Linked DNA regions of Homo sapiens: region 1 is linked to region 2. Evidence: promoter capture Hi-C in 16 types of primary human blood cells and fetal thymus (Javierre and others, 2016). All regions are on one chromosome and are shown on one strand. The core of a region is centred on a gene start or on the middle of the fragment in contact, and the rest is flanking DNA. Distances in the headings are between cores, read along the strand shown. Region 1 overlaps MPHOSPH6 (M-phase phosphoprotein 6). Region 2 holds the start of GCSH (glycine cleavage system protein H).

Evidence for each region. The method cuts DNA at HindIII sites, captures the fragments that hold promoters and counts their contacts. A CHiCAGO score of 5 or more calls a contact.
Region 1: a fragment that was not itself captured here is called in contact with the fragment with the promoter of GCSH in region 2 in 2 of 17 cell types (fetal thymus and naive CD8 T cells); the score reaches 6.6 in fetal thymus.

Annotation. Positions count from the first base shown.
Region 1 is chr16:82,156,345-82,164,202 of GRCh38, forward strand. MPHOSPH6 (M-phase phosphoprotein 6) reads right to left here. Exons shown (of 5, transcript NM_005792.2): 2 at 7,738-7,850. Among named protein-coding and RNA genes, the nearest start is that of MPHOSPH6, 10 kb to the right of the region's middle. RefSeq lists enhancers at 4,384-4,528, 6,787-6,931 and cis regulatory regions at 4,456, 6,859. The HindIII fragment of the contact is 3,410 bases long and covers 3,662-7,071 here.
Region 2 is chr16:81,093,579-81,100,383 of GRCh38, forward strand. GCSH (glycine cleavage system protein H) reads right to left here and starts at 2,817. Exons shown (of 5, transcript NM_004483.5): 1 at 2,553-2,817. The coding sequence starts at 2,700. RefSeq lists silencers at 2,234-2,903, 3,054-3,153. The HindIII fragment of the contact is 7,249 bases long and covers 1-3,672 here.

The DNA.
Region 1 (7,858 bases), core at 4,117-6,616, 1.1 Mb after region 2:
CAACTTACTGCATCAAAAATACAATAAACTGATGGCTGGATGGGGGATGAACAAATATGTGATATAAAATATTTAAAAAAACAAAACAAAAACAAAACTTTCTCAATTTTTAAAATGGCCAAAATATTTGAAAAGGCACTTCACAAAGGTAGATATGGAAATGGCCAAAAAGGAAGAAGTTCTTCAACATTATGTCATCAGGAAAATGCAAATTAAAAACCATAATAAGATGCCACTAAAATAGTTAAAAGTAAAAAGATACATAACTCCAAATGTTGGACTCTCACACTTCCTTAGTGAAAGTGTAAAATCATAGAACAAACTAGTCTGAAAATTTCTGTTAAAGTACAATTCCACAGTTACAAAAGAAATGAAAACATAACAAAACAAAACTTGAGTATGAATGTCATACCAGCTTTATCCATAAGCGTAAAAAAACAGGCTGGGTGTGGTGCCTCATACCTGTAATCCCAGCACTTTGGGTATCCGAGGCCAGCGATCACCTGAGATCAGGAGTTCAAGACCAGCCTGGCCAACATGGTCTCTATTAAAAATAAAATTAGCCGGGCATGGTGGTGCACGCCTGTAATCCCAGCTACTCCGGAGGCTGAGGCAGGAGAACCGCTTGAACCTGGGAAGCAGGCTGCAGTGAGCCGCGGTTGCGCCAGTGCACTGTAGCTTGGGCAACAGAGCGAGACTCCATTTCAAAAAAAATAAATAAATAAAAATAAAAAAATAAAAAACTGGAAACAACCCAATCATGAGTTCTTTAACATTATTAGTCATCAGGAAAATGCTAATTAAAAACCACAATGAGATGCCACTAGAATAAAATTAAAAAGATATCTAACTCCAAATGTTGAACTCTCATACTTCCTTAGTGAAAGTGTTATAACACTTCTCTATTAATGTCCATTAATAGAAGAATGAATAGATATACCGTGGTGTATCTGTAAAATGAAATACCACTTAGCAACAGAAACAAATTACTGATGTTCCAAAACAAGGATGAATATCCAAAACATTTTGCTGACACAGTTAAGCACATATTGCACAATTCCTTTTTTATGAAGTTCAAGAACAGACAAAATTAATCTACGGTTTAAGAAATCAGAACAGTGCTTGCATCAGAGCAGGAGTGAGACTGACTAGAAAGAGGGATGAAGATCTTTACGTGATGATGGAAATGTTTCCTTGATAGGAGTATGGTTTACAAAGATGCATGCACTATCAAAACACATACAGCTGTAGACTTAAGTACATTCCACTGAATGCAACCACCACCCACACACCCACACGTGCACACAGTTTAAGGGGAGATACTGAGGGCAGACTAGAGGAGAGGCGTCTTTTAAAAGAGTGGTCTGGATAGGCCTCTTGTCAGGGGTGACATCTGAGCAAGGACCAGGAGGCAGTGAGGAAGCAAGATATGAGGATGCCCAGGTGAAGAACACCTGAAGTCCCCATAAGTGGGGGCCCTGAGAAGGGAATCTAACCTGCCTGAGAAACATAAAGCCCCTGCAGTTGGAATGGAGACAATGCAGAGTAGTAGCAGGAGGTCAGAGTTACTTGCATGATAACATTAAGATGTCATCTTTTACTGTGTTGACATTTGCAGACTGTGCAAAAGCAACTCTGGGTAAAACGAATCTTAGCATGAGTGAAAGCAGCAGTGATACCAGACTACCCTGGTAGTTACATTCTTCACTGCCAGGCCCTCACAGTTCAAAGAAAAATGCCAGTTTCACATTAGAATGTTCTTGATGACACAGCACAAATTTATTTCTGTTAATCTTAGCCCTCAATTACTTTAAAAAATATTCGGTATACGAAATTGAAACTCTATATATAAGATACTTCTTAGCCGGGCGCAGTGGCTCACACCTGTAATCCCAGCAGTTTGGGAGGCCGAAGCAGGAGGATCACGAGGTCAGGAAATTGAGATCATCCTGGCTAATACGATGAAACCCTGTCTCTACTAAAAAAATACAAAAAAAAAAAAAAATTGGCTGGGCATAGCGGCGGGTGCCTGTAGTTCCAGCTACATTGGAGGCTGAGGCAGCAGAATGGTGTGAACCCGGGAGGTGGAGTTTGCAGTGAGCGGAGATCTCGCCACTGCACTCCAGCCTGGGTGACAGAGCGAGACTCCGTCTCAAAAAAAAAAAAAAAAAAAAAAAAAGATACTTCATCATAGTCAAATAATCTAACTGCACTTGTGTGACTGAACCGAGAGATGAATTAGACACTTTTTTTCAATGTCACACCGTAACTATGGTTTTGCGGGTTTGGGTTCTTTGGCAGACATTTTCTTGAAAATAAATAAAGTGAACCTGACACTTCAAGGGGAATAACTGACACTATTTACTGCCAATAACAAAATTCAAGCTTTCAAGCAAAAGTTAGAATTCCGAATAGCTTTTATCTGTCATCTTGGGCTTGATAGCTTCCCAACACTTAAAAGACTTTTCTGTTGAAACCCACGGTGATACTAATGAATGTGATTTTTGATATTGTATAACAAGATGAGTTAACACTGGGAAAATCTATACAACTCATTTTCCAAATGACAGATGCAGGATGTTAAGAAATCATATACAGGTAAAAGATCTATTTGGAATACAAGACAGACCAAGACATGAAAAATTCACTGGTGTTTTCAGATTCCACGTTGCAATTTACTCTGAAGAAACTACTACTGACTGAGTTTTGGAGTTGTACCAAAGAATTATCTGAAAAGGCCATTGAGATACTCCTCTCTTTTCAACTGTATCACCTGTGTGAGGGGGATTTTCTTTATATACTTCAACCAATACAACATGCTTTAACAGGCTGACTGCAGGCGTTCAGAGTCTAGCTGTCTTCTATTATGCCACAATGTTAAAGAGATTTGCAAAAACAGAAAACAGTGCCACTCTTCTCGTTAAATTTTTTGTCTTGAAAAAGTTATTTGTCATTAAAAATGTGTTAGGTAATGAATTTGTTATTTAAATAATTTTTAAAATTTCTTACATAGTAAATATTAACAAATATAAATCACACAAAACACTCTTTAGGTGTTCTAAATAAATTTTTTTTTTTGAGATGGAGTCTCATTCTGTTGCCCAGGCTGGAGTGCAGTAGCGCAATCTCGGCTCAATGCAACCTCCGCCTCCTGGATTCCAGTGATTCTCCTGCCTCAGCCTCCTGAGAAGCTGGGACTACAGGCACACGCCATCATGCCTGGCTAATTTTTTTTGTATTTTTAGTAGAGACGGGGTTTCACCATGTTAACCATGATGGTCTCGATCTCCTGACGTCGTGATCCGCCTGCCTCGGCCTCCCAAAGTGCTGGGATTACAGGTGTGAGCCACCGTGCCCGGCCTAGGAGTTCTAAATAATTTTTATAAATGCAAATAGCTTCTGAGTTCCAAAACTCTGAGAACCACTGTGATTTTGGTTCCTCTCTCACTGGCCCTCTAGTCTGGCTAGAAACTCACTTACTTCAGAACCGCCTCTCCCTGAGGGAATCTAAATTTGGGCACAGAACTTGCTGTTCAGCTTTTTCTATGAACTTGGGATTCCCTCTCAATTGCCCAATCTTATTCCTTATAGAGGGAGCAGCTGATGAGACCTCCTCAATTCCAAAGTAAATCATCTCTCTCAGGAAAGCACCATACATCAAAGCTTTCACTTAAGGCAAAGGAGGGACCCAGAGAAAGACAACCTCCAGAGGTCAGGACTGGATTCAGAGCAGGACTACTGGCCCCTCAGAGGTTTTTCCCACGGGTTTGCATTGACACCGTATCTTTAATATAAAAAGGAGCACAGGTGTTTTGTATCTACATGCATGGTTTTAAGAATTAGAAAAATTAATTACAGAGTTGGCAAGCAAGTGAAATATTTCAAAACTTACCTCTTTTTGTATTTTAATTATCCAATTTTCATTAATGAGGATAATTTTCAGGCTAAAACACACCCACAAAATTATTTCATAAATTTCGCAGATGAGAAACTACTGCTCAGAAAAAGCTGGACTTGCCTAAAGCCACAAATACCATGGCAAAACTCCAGTTAGAAAACCCTTCTCAGTGGGTCTCACATTCCTGCACATTTTTTGAGTGAGGCACTAACTGCCCGGTTGCTCTGGACTATCTTTGCAAGGATATCTGCATAGCGAGCAGCCTTGAAAAACAGTCTTCCTCTAAAGCGAAGGGCAGATTTGCTTACTGTCCAGCATAATACAGATGCCTCTCTTGGGGCCGAAGGCAAGTCTGCTTGTGGTCCGTTATCCAAGGTTCCAGTTTTCTAAGCTCAGGAGATCTCAGCTATGATGCAAATCCACTGGGTGCACAGCATCCACCTGGGCCACTTCACGCCATCCCTCATAGGAGTTGGGGACAAAAGAGAAATGACGCAAACTTGATGCTTGTGCTGCTTGCTGTACAGTAAGTCCTTTGTTTCTGATGGTGTTCAGGAGACACTACTCCCAAAATATGGCATCTTGGCATACTGAAAATTTTACACTGGAGGAATCTGAAAAATGACGTGCAGGTAGGATTTTCTGACTGTCCCCTGAAGCAGGTCATAAAAGCATCTCACATAAGAGGTGCCCTCCCTACACTCAGAGGAAAGCAACATCCTTATCTCAGAAGAAGGGACAGAGAGAGGAATCTGAACAAAAGACTTGCTAAGTTTCTCCTGGCTTATTACTCTTCGTTCATACCCCTTGCTCCCATCATATTTCTTCACAACTTTCCACTCTTCATCAAAGCTAACATAAAAACACTCAGGTTCAACCAGTTCTTCGGTATTCATTTTCTTATGAAGGCTCCTGTGTCACCTAAAACTTTTGTGAAATAAAAGTGTATACCTTTCTCTTTGTTAATCTGTCTTTTGTTACAGGGACCCCAACTAATGAACTTCAAATGGGTGGAAGGAAAGGCTATTGTCCCTCCCCTACATCTCAGACCCAGAAGGTTCCTATCTTCCACCAGCATCAGTGAAAGTGTGGCAGGCTAACTTGTTAGTTTCAGGTCCCTATAGCTTCTGACTCCAAACAGACCACAAAACACAAGTATAAGATGTACAATAGCCAAAAATACTTCTTAAACAACTTGCTACGGCAAAGGAGGAATTAAACTGCCTATACTTGCACACTCTTTCTGGACCATATCCTTGGGGAAAAAAACAATAAGGCAATAGATAGCAAAATCTTTCATCTGGTAAATTTCACTCCTAGGAATTCACACTATATCGGGTTCCCTGGAAACAGACTCTGAGACAGACATATATGCAGAAAACTTAGCAGGCAGTGTTGTTCAGCAGATGCCCTTCTAGGAAAACAGAGAAAGAAGGATTGGGCAGAGGGAGAAGATAATGGGCAATGTGGCTACACTAAGGCCTCAGCCACATATGAGAGCTCTGGAGTCAGGAATGCCCTTCAGTTGTTCCAAGTTGAGGCACAGCAGCTAGATCATCATTCCCCTACATGGTCTAGCCACTGGCTAAAAGTGTCCCCTGTGAGGCAGTGTTAACACTGAATAGCCCTAATTATCTTCACTGAATTACAGACTGATACGGCTGACATTAAAAATGGGAAAGTCGAGACTTTCAGAGCACAGACACATGCAATCTCCAAATTCACAGAATAGTTAAGACAACACTAGCAAAAAAGGATACACAAACATAAGTGAGTAGAAAGGAATGGGTGTACTTCATATATTCAGATATAAGGAAATACACACAATGGTGACAATCACTGTGCTTTATGCCTGGTGTTATGGTGACTGTTTTACATATATTACCTCATCTACTTCTCGGAATGTACTGGACAGGTACTATCATCATACCCAATACACAAATGACACAAAACAGGTTAAGTAACTCACCCAAGGTGACAAGTAAACAACTGGCGGAGCTGGGCATCAAACCCAGGTCTGCCTGACTTCAGAGCCCATGTGCTTAATCAACCAATCCATTCCATGATCTCCCTATTTAGAGTGTTAAAAACAACAACTCAATACAACACGTATACCAAGGACATGTCATCCATTCACCCCTCCAGACCTACTTCCCGTCTTCACCTGTTTCTCTGGCCTGGGAGGCTGACTTGAACGTAATGCACGGAAGGGCTCCTTTGCTGCCAGGTACCTGGCTCCCTTGCTAGGATGACCTTGGGCTGGCCGTACCCGTGAATGGAGGTAGCAGCTCCTGTAAGGTGCTCTCTCTACACAACTTATCTGCAGATTCGGTAGCAGCTATTCCCCACCCACCCGTTGACTCTGCAAGCTCAGGTGGTAATCACTCCCACTACACATGCTAGGAGGTGCTGCACTGCCCCGAGGGGCCCCCCTATGCCCCACCCACACCTTGATAGTCTCTCCTCAGTCTGAGAGTGTCATCTTCTCCTGCCAACATCCTGAGCTGATATACACACCTATACATAAACAGGATGCTGAGTAATGGCAAAAAGGCATTATTTACCTTCCCAGAAAGAAATGTAAAGGTCATTTTCTGGGAATAATATGCTGTATTAGGGGAAAAATACTGGAAACAAGATAGAAACAGTCCTGCTCTTTAATAAACAACTGGAAGGAACACTTTGGCAAGTTTACTTAAGGCATAAAAGTAAATTATAGCTCCAGCAGCAAAGGTCCCTTCCTCCCTGTGACCCTGCCCCTGGCACTATCTTCTCCCTCCTCACCAACATCTTGCTTCCTCTGAGAAGCAGAGAAAAAAAGTACCTTCTCCCGATCCCTCCTGGTGGGACATACTTTCTATCTTTAGAGAAGGGTATCTAACCTTCAAACAATGTCCAGAGGTCAGCCAAATGAACAGGGGAATATAACATTCCAAATCAAAGCCCAAACATCAGGTACAGAATGGAAACACATAAATGTGCCTCAAGACAGTAAGCAGCATCTTCAGTCATTTGACCAAAGTTTAAGTAAAACTACCATACAACAGAGCTTACTAAGGTGAGGAAAGTATCAGGGAAAAATGAAAAATAGCTTCCAGAAGGATTCAGCTAAATTAATGGATGAAATAAATCCAACACTCCTTCATTCAAAATTGTTGATCAGGCACCAGCCAAGCTTAGGGGTGGGCCAGAAACTGTCTACCCCAGCCTTCAGCACTGACTAGCTGGGTGAAGCTGGGCAAGTTACCCTCCCTTAAGCTCAGTTCCTCAACTACAAAGTGACAGAATCATAGGAGGCAGTTCCTAAGTTTGCTACGAAGATTCAATAACTACAGATGTAAAGTGTTTAGCCCAGTTCCTGGTACACACTATAGATTCAGTAAATGTTAGCTAAAATGGATGGTATTACAAGTAGTAACAATTTAAAAGAAGAAACAAAAACTTCTGACCTGCCTTAAAATGCTCAACCTAATGAACTCTGTAACCGAAACAAAACTGGAGAGACCTGAAGTACACCCCTAATCTTTAGAACTTAAGGTGATAGAGAGAACATTACAGCTTCCCCAAAGGTCTGCTGTTACTATCAGAGATATGTGGGCTAGGTTCCTTCATTCAATGTAAAAAAGGACAAAATAGTGGCTGGGAGGGGGAGTAGTAAAAATGTATAAATCCATGTACAACTTCTATAGGTTTAATATTTTTTAGTTGTGCTACTAAATCAATAAACTGAACAGAAACAATTTCATGGGCTTTATGTCACCGGAATGATGAGTTAAATTTACCAGGAGTTTCCTTCTGAATGCCACAAGCATCATCAGTATCAATTTTAATAAACCTACTCTTTCTCTTTAAGCTCTGGCAAATCCAAGTACCAGTGCTCTTCACTAATGATTTTCTTTTCTTCTTCTTCTAGTTGTTTCTTGGTTTCTGAGTCCAGTCCCCTTTGCATAAACTGTGAAA
Region 2 (6,805 bases), core at 1,567-4,066:
GCCTGTAATCCCAGCACTTTGGGAGGCCGAGGCAGGCAGATCACCTGAGATCAGGAGTTCAAGACCACCCTGGCCAACATGGTGAAACCCCGTCTCTACTAAAATACAAAAAATTGGCCGGGTATGGTGGCGGGCACCTATAATCCCAGCTACCCTGGAGGCTGAGGCAGGAGAATCACTTGAACCTGGGAGGCAGAGGTTGCAGTGATTCAAAGACCTAAGTCTTTATTTTACTAAGCATGCTGTTTAGGCTAAAGGCAATGATTAGTACAATTCTCCTTTAACCCTTGGCCCGACAGGAAGAAGTGGATAGATTAGGTAAATAATTACTTTCTTTTTTTGAGACAGAGTCTCACTCTGTCGCCCAAGCTGGAGTGTAGTGGTGCAATCTAGGCTCGCTGCAACCTCTGCCTCCCGGGTTCAAGTGATTCGGCCTCATCCTCCCAAGGAGCTGGGATTACAAGCACGTGCCACCACGCCCGACTAATTTTTTGTATTTTTGGTAGAGACAGGGTTTCACCATGTTGGCCAGGCTGGTCTTGAACTCCTGACCTCAGGTGATCCGCCCGCCTCAGCCTCCCAAAGTGCTGGGATTAAAGGCATGAGCCACCGTGCCTGGACAATAATTACTTTCTAACTGGGCCTTGAAAAAGGTGGTTTTTGGCCTCGGAAAATTAGGAGTTGTGAGCAATTTATGAAAATTTTGCATTTTCCTTTTTCAATGTCACTAGTCAGATAAAATATTTTATATTAGTATTAGTCAATTTTTCTTCTCTTTTTTTTTTGAGATGGAGGTGTGCTCTTGTCGTCCAGCTACTCCACAGGCTGAGGCAGGAGAAGTGTTTGAACCCGGGAAGCGAAGGTTGCAGTGAGCCAAGATCCTGCCACTGGATGCCAGCCTGGGCGACAGAGCGAGACTCCATCTCAAAAAAGAAGAAAAAAAAAAGGAACGAAAACCACAGACTTGAAACTAAATTCTTATCTGAGAAATGCTTTACCTTTGTATTCAAATTAGTGATGTAGGGATCCCTATCAGAAACAGAGCGGACAGACTATTAGCAAGACAGCATAAGTAAATCTTTATGCTACAAATTTTGGAATAAATTTATCAACCATTCCAGCTCCAAACAGGTTTCTAAAACAATGAGCTAATGAGACAAGAGCCATCACTGATCTACGCAATCGAAGCAGAGGAGCAGTCAGTGTATCAAACATTTGGGCGTAAAGAAAATTGTTGGCCTGGCGCGGTGACGCACGACTGTAATCTCAGCACTTTGGGAGGCTGAGGCGGGTGGATCACTTGAGGTCAGGAGTTTGAGACCAGCCTAACGTGGCGAAACCCTGTCTCTACTAAAAATACAAAACTCAGCTGGAGGTGGTGACGGGCGCCAGTGAACCCAGCTACTCGGGAGGCTGAGGCAAGAGAATCGCTTGAATCTGGGAGGTGGCGCTTGCAGTGAGCCGAGATCACGCCGCTGCACTCCAGCCTGGGCGACAGAGCGAGGCTCCGTCTCAATAAAAAGAAAAAAAAAAAAAAAGAAAATTGTTTTTCCCCTGCAATAATTGTGCTGAAGTAGCACAAATGGCCGAAACATTCATGGGCAGGTTTCCCAGTTATTTCAAGTCCGTTTGAGTTAGGGCTCATTTCAGCAAGCACACACATGAATGATCCAATACAAACTTTAGCAGAACTTCTGTTGAGTCCAGAAGACTTTATCTTACTTGTTTTGGGGAAATAGCTGAATCTTCAAAGTTATGATTGTTTTATCTAGTAAAAAAATCTAGATCTGGCGCTTTAATTTTTTTTTTTTTTTTTTTTTTTGAGGTGGAGTTTTGCTCTGTCGCCCAGGCTGGAGTGCAGTGGCGCGATCTCGGCTCACTGCAACCTCTGCCTCCCAGGTTCAAGCGATTCTCCTGCCTCAGCCTCCCGAGTAGCTGGGATTACATGCGCATGCCGCCACGCCTGGCTAATTTTTTGTACTTTTAGTAGAGATGGGATTTCACCGTGTTAGCCAGGATAGTCTCGATCTCCTGACCTCGTGATCCGCCCTCCGGCATGAGCCAACGCGCCCTGCCTGGTGCTTTAATTTTAATAAGCGCTTCTGTTTTAATTTTACTTCGGAGTTCTCAGTAACGGTCCATTTAGTAAACTAAAGGCCTCCCCATTTGGGGTCTCAACGATGCACGCAGATGGGAGATAAACTTAAGGCCACCGAGACGCTTAAGCGACACGTGCCTGGCTTCTGCAGCAAGCGGCCGACCTGCCCGCCGGACCCGCCGGGCCACCCCCGCCTCGGTGTCCCGCAGGCCTCCCCTCCCGGCTGCATGCAATCCCTAGGGCAAAGGCTACTCGCGGGTCCTCCCGCTACTTAAGGGGGAGAAGCGGCCGCAGAGCCAGGGATCCCAACAGAAATAAGAAGGGGGCAGGGTCCGCGCTCGCTCCGCCCCGGTGGCTCAGGAGCGGTGCCCCGGCGTCCTCCGTGTCCCGCTGGGCCCGGGACAAGCAGCCCAGGCGGGGAGGGAGCAGCCGCCCACGTGCCCGCCGCGCTTACCCGAGAGCAGAGCGGGTCCAGTGCGCAGCGTACGGACGGCGCCCACCCCCAGCTGCCAGGGCCTCGGCGGGCAGGGCGCGGCGGGTGACGGGACCGCGCGCAGGGTGCAGAGCAGGGCCCGCACGCTCCGCACCACTCGCAGCGCCATGTTCGCAGGGGTGCGGGGGTCGCAGCGCTACGCCTCGGCCACCCGCGCCGGGAGGCGGGGCGGGGAGGGGCAGTTCGCGGCCGGAGGGAGCCGGCTGGATGGAGGCGCGGAGGCGGTGCCGCGGGGGCGGGACAGAGCCTGACTGGGCAGAGCGTGGAGGGCGGAGACTCCCAGGCGAGGGGGCGAGGCAGGGTCTGATTGGCCAGCACGCGGAGACTGGGGACTCCAGGGCCTGGCGCGACCTCGGATACGGCGACGCGAAAGAGGGGCGTGGGCATGGGGAAGAACCTGAGGCCCGGAAGAGGCAGCACCGAGAGGCGGAGACTAGCGCGGCGGGCCTGGGTATGATTGGGCTGCCCGCAGGAGGGGGGCGGGGCCTAGCCCCAGACTGGGTTCCTTTCCACATGTGTATCTCTTTTACTGCCTCTGTCATAAGTTTTCAAAGGTGGTTTCACCACCTCACGAAGGAATTCAAGAACAAGTCGGAAAGTCGTGAAAGTACAGAGGTTTACTGCAAAGTACACACTGAAGAAAGGGCGGACTCAAAAGAGGGCCACACAATGGGGCTTGGGGTTTCCATCTTTATGGGTTTCTTTGAGAAATGGAATATACACAAAGGTTTCTGGAATAAGGTGGAGACTTGTCAGAACTGTGGTGCCACCCATTTTTACACCAAATATGGGTGTTCCCGGAATTGTTGTGGTGCCGGTGGGTGTGTGACTTAGTATGTTAATGAGTCCTAGGTGAAGCCTAGGTCAAAGCCACACCACGTTGGGTCCAGTTGGTTTTAGCCAGGTTGACCCACACCCTGGTTTTTCAGGGTCTTAGCCCATAGCTTGTGCAGCTATTTCAACAGTTTCCTTTTGTTAGACAGAACTGCAGCCTGGAAGTTTCTATTCTCCTTCAACTGCTCTGTAACGTTCCTGTCTCAAAGAGCCCCAGGGACCCCAAACAGGACCGGCAGAATCCAGAAGCTTACTTAAAAAGGAATAAAGACTTGTCCAAGGGTCATAAGTGGCTTCTTGGTGGAGACTGGACCCAAGCCAGTCACTAATGCAGAAATATTCAAAACGCAGAGAGCTGAGACCCAGTGTGCACAATTCCTTGTTTCATCGGCCAGCGGTGTGACCAAGGCCTTCCGAGAAAAGCCGAAGTCATCATCCCAATCCAAGAAGTCAGAAAAAAATTAGGTTCTGGGAAAAACCTCACCTTTAACACAGATTTTATGGAGTGGCCATGAGTCAGCAAAGAAATACTGTTCTGAAAAACACCTTAAGCTACACACACACCTTTAGTACTGTTACAGAAAGGGCTCCCAATCCAGACCCCAAGAGAGGGTTTTTGGACCTCATGCAAGAAAGAATTTGGGGAGAGTCTATAAAGTGAAAGCACGTTTAATAGAGAAGTAAAGAAAAAAAAGAATGGCTTCTTCGTAGACAGAGCAGCAGTATGGCTTCTCGACTAAGTGTACTTATAGTTATTTCTTGATTGTATGCTAAACAAGGGGTGGATCATTCAAGAGTTCTCCAGAAAAGGGGCAGGGATTTCCTAGAACTAACGGTTCCTCCGCTTTTTGGACTATAGGGTAACTTCTCTGGACGTTGCCATTGCATTTGTGAACTGTCATGACGCTGGTGGGAGTTGTTTTTTTTTTAACATGCTAATGCATTATAATTAGCGTATAATGAGCAGTGAGACCTACCAGAGGTCGCCATCTTGGTTTTGGTGAGTTTTGGCCAGCTCCTTTACCGCATCCTATTTTATCAGCAGGGACTTTGTGACCTGTATCTTGTGCCAACCCTAGCTCATCCTGTGACTAAGTGAGGCAGGTGAATCACTTGAGGTCAGGAGTTCGAGACCAACCTGGCCAACATGGAGAAACCCCCGTCTCTACTACAAATCCAAAGTTTAGCCAGGCATGGTGGCAGGTGCCTGTAATCCCAGCTACTCAGGAGGCTGAGGCACGAGAATCACTTGAGCCTGGGAGGCAGAGGTTGCAGTGAGTCGAGATCACGCCACTGCACTCCAGCCTGGGTGACAGAGCGAGACTCTGCTTCAGAAAAAAATACAAATAAAAAGAATGCCTAACCTCCTGGGAATGCAGCCCACCAAGTCTCAGCCTCATTTTACCCAGCCCATATTCAAAATGGAGTTGTTCTTGTTCAAACACCGGAAACAGTACCATAGGGTGCACACCATGGAGTGTGTGTGTGTTTGGGGAGCCCATACGTTGTTGCACTGAGCTTCTGCCCTGCTATGAACTTAGGGTTGCCACCACATCTGTGCAGTGGCTTGCAAGGGCCGTCATGCCCACTTTCTTTTGAGCAAATCATTCCCATCTATTGAGCCTTTGCTATGTGCCTGGCACTATGCACACATCTTTTTAATCCTCTCCAAACCTCTTTCTGGCAGGTGTTACACTCATTTCATAGATGAGGCTCAGAGGTGAAGGCACTTCCGAGGAGTGGGATCGGGGAGGCGTTTTTGTGGCTTAAGTAGCTCCTAGGTGGCAGTAGTAGACCTTGGCCTCTACACTGATTAGAAAGCAACTCTTCTTTTTTTCTTTTTTTTTTTCGAGACGAAGTCTAGCTCTGTCGCCCAAGCTGGAGCGCAGTGGCGTGATCTTGGCTCACTGCAACCTCTGCCTCCCGGGTTCAAGCAATTCTCCTGCTTCAGCCTCCCGAGTGGCTGGGACTACAGGACCACGTGCCACCACGCCCGTCTAATTTTTGTATGTTTAGTAGAGATGGGGTTTCACTATGTTGGCCAAGCTGGTCTCGAACTCCTGACCTTGTAATCCACCCACCTCGGCCTTCCAAAGTGCTGGGATTACAGGCATGAACCACCGTGCCTGGCCAGCAATTGCTCTTAAGCTCTGCTCCGCTTGCTTTCGTTTGGGATGCTGACTGGATCACGCTGGTCTACCCTGCACTACAGATCTTGGCTACCTTCTCTAATGTCAAGATGTTGTTTTCTATTGTTGTTTCATTACAAGACAGTGCAGCATCGTGCCACTTACACCCTAACATATTTATTCTCAGCTTCACTAACTCATGTGATGGGAAGAAAAAGATCACACATCAACATCAACATATGGGCTACAAAAAGGCCCTTCCACCAAAAAATATGACATGTGTTTTTCTTTTGGTAAAAAGCATTGAAGACAGTCAAAATTTTTTTTCTTTTTCTACCTAGTAATCTTTGTAACCTCCTGGTTTGAGATTTTAAAGGTCATCTCGTTGCCCATTGAGTATAAGCTCTGGAAAATTCCAGGTGGTCATTTCTTCCAGGTGTTTTGAGAGGGGCCCATTCATCTCTTTGAGCTGATAGACATATTTTCCTCTTATAACAATACAGTAGACTGGGTGCGGTGGCTCATGCCTGTAATCCCAGCACTGTGGGAGGCCTAGGTAGGCAGATCACTTGAGGCCAGGAGTTCAAGACCAGCCTGGCCAACATGGTGAAACCCCGTCTCTACAAAAAAATACAAAAATTACCCAGGCATGCTCTTGTGTGCCTGTAGTCCCAGATACTGGGAAGCCTGAGACACAAGAATCATTTGATCTTGGGAGGCAGAGGTTTCAGTGAGCTGAAATCATGCCACTGCATTCCAGCCTGGGCAACAGAGCAAGACCCTGTCTCAAACAAACAAACAAACAAACAAAAAAACTTTTATAAACCAGTATTCCCCATATTTATTTGACCCAGAAACATTTTTGGAGGAATGACACCTGTTCTGGTTTGAATTGTGGCTCCTAAAGAGGTATGTCAAAGTCCTAAGTCCCAGTTCTTCAGATGTGACCATATTGGGAAACAGGATCCCTGCAGATGTATTATAATTAGTTCAGATGAGGTCACCCTGGACTAGGGTGGGCCCCTAATTCAATATGGCTGGTGTGCTGAGAAAAGGAGAAGGAACACAGGCTCCCAGCAAGCTTCTTCCCATCTGGGAGTGACACATCTAGAAGCCAAGGGACACCAAGGCTGGCTGGCCAACACCAAAAGCTGGAAGAGGCAAGAAGGATTCTTCCCTAGAGCCCTCAGAGGGAGCATGGCACTGCCAACATCTTTTTTCTTTCTTTTCTTTTTTTTTTTTGTGAGACGG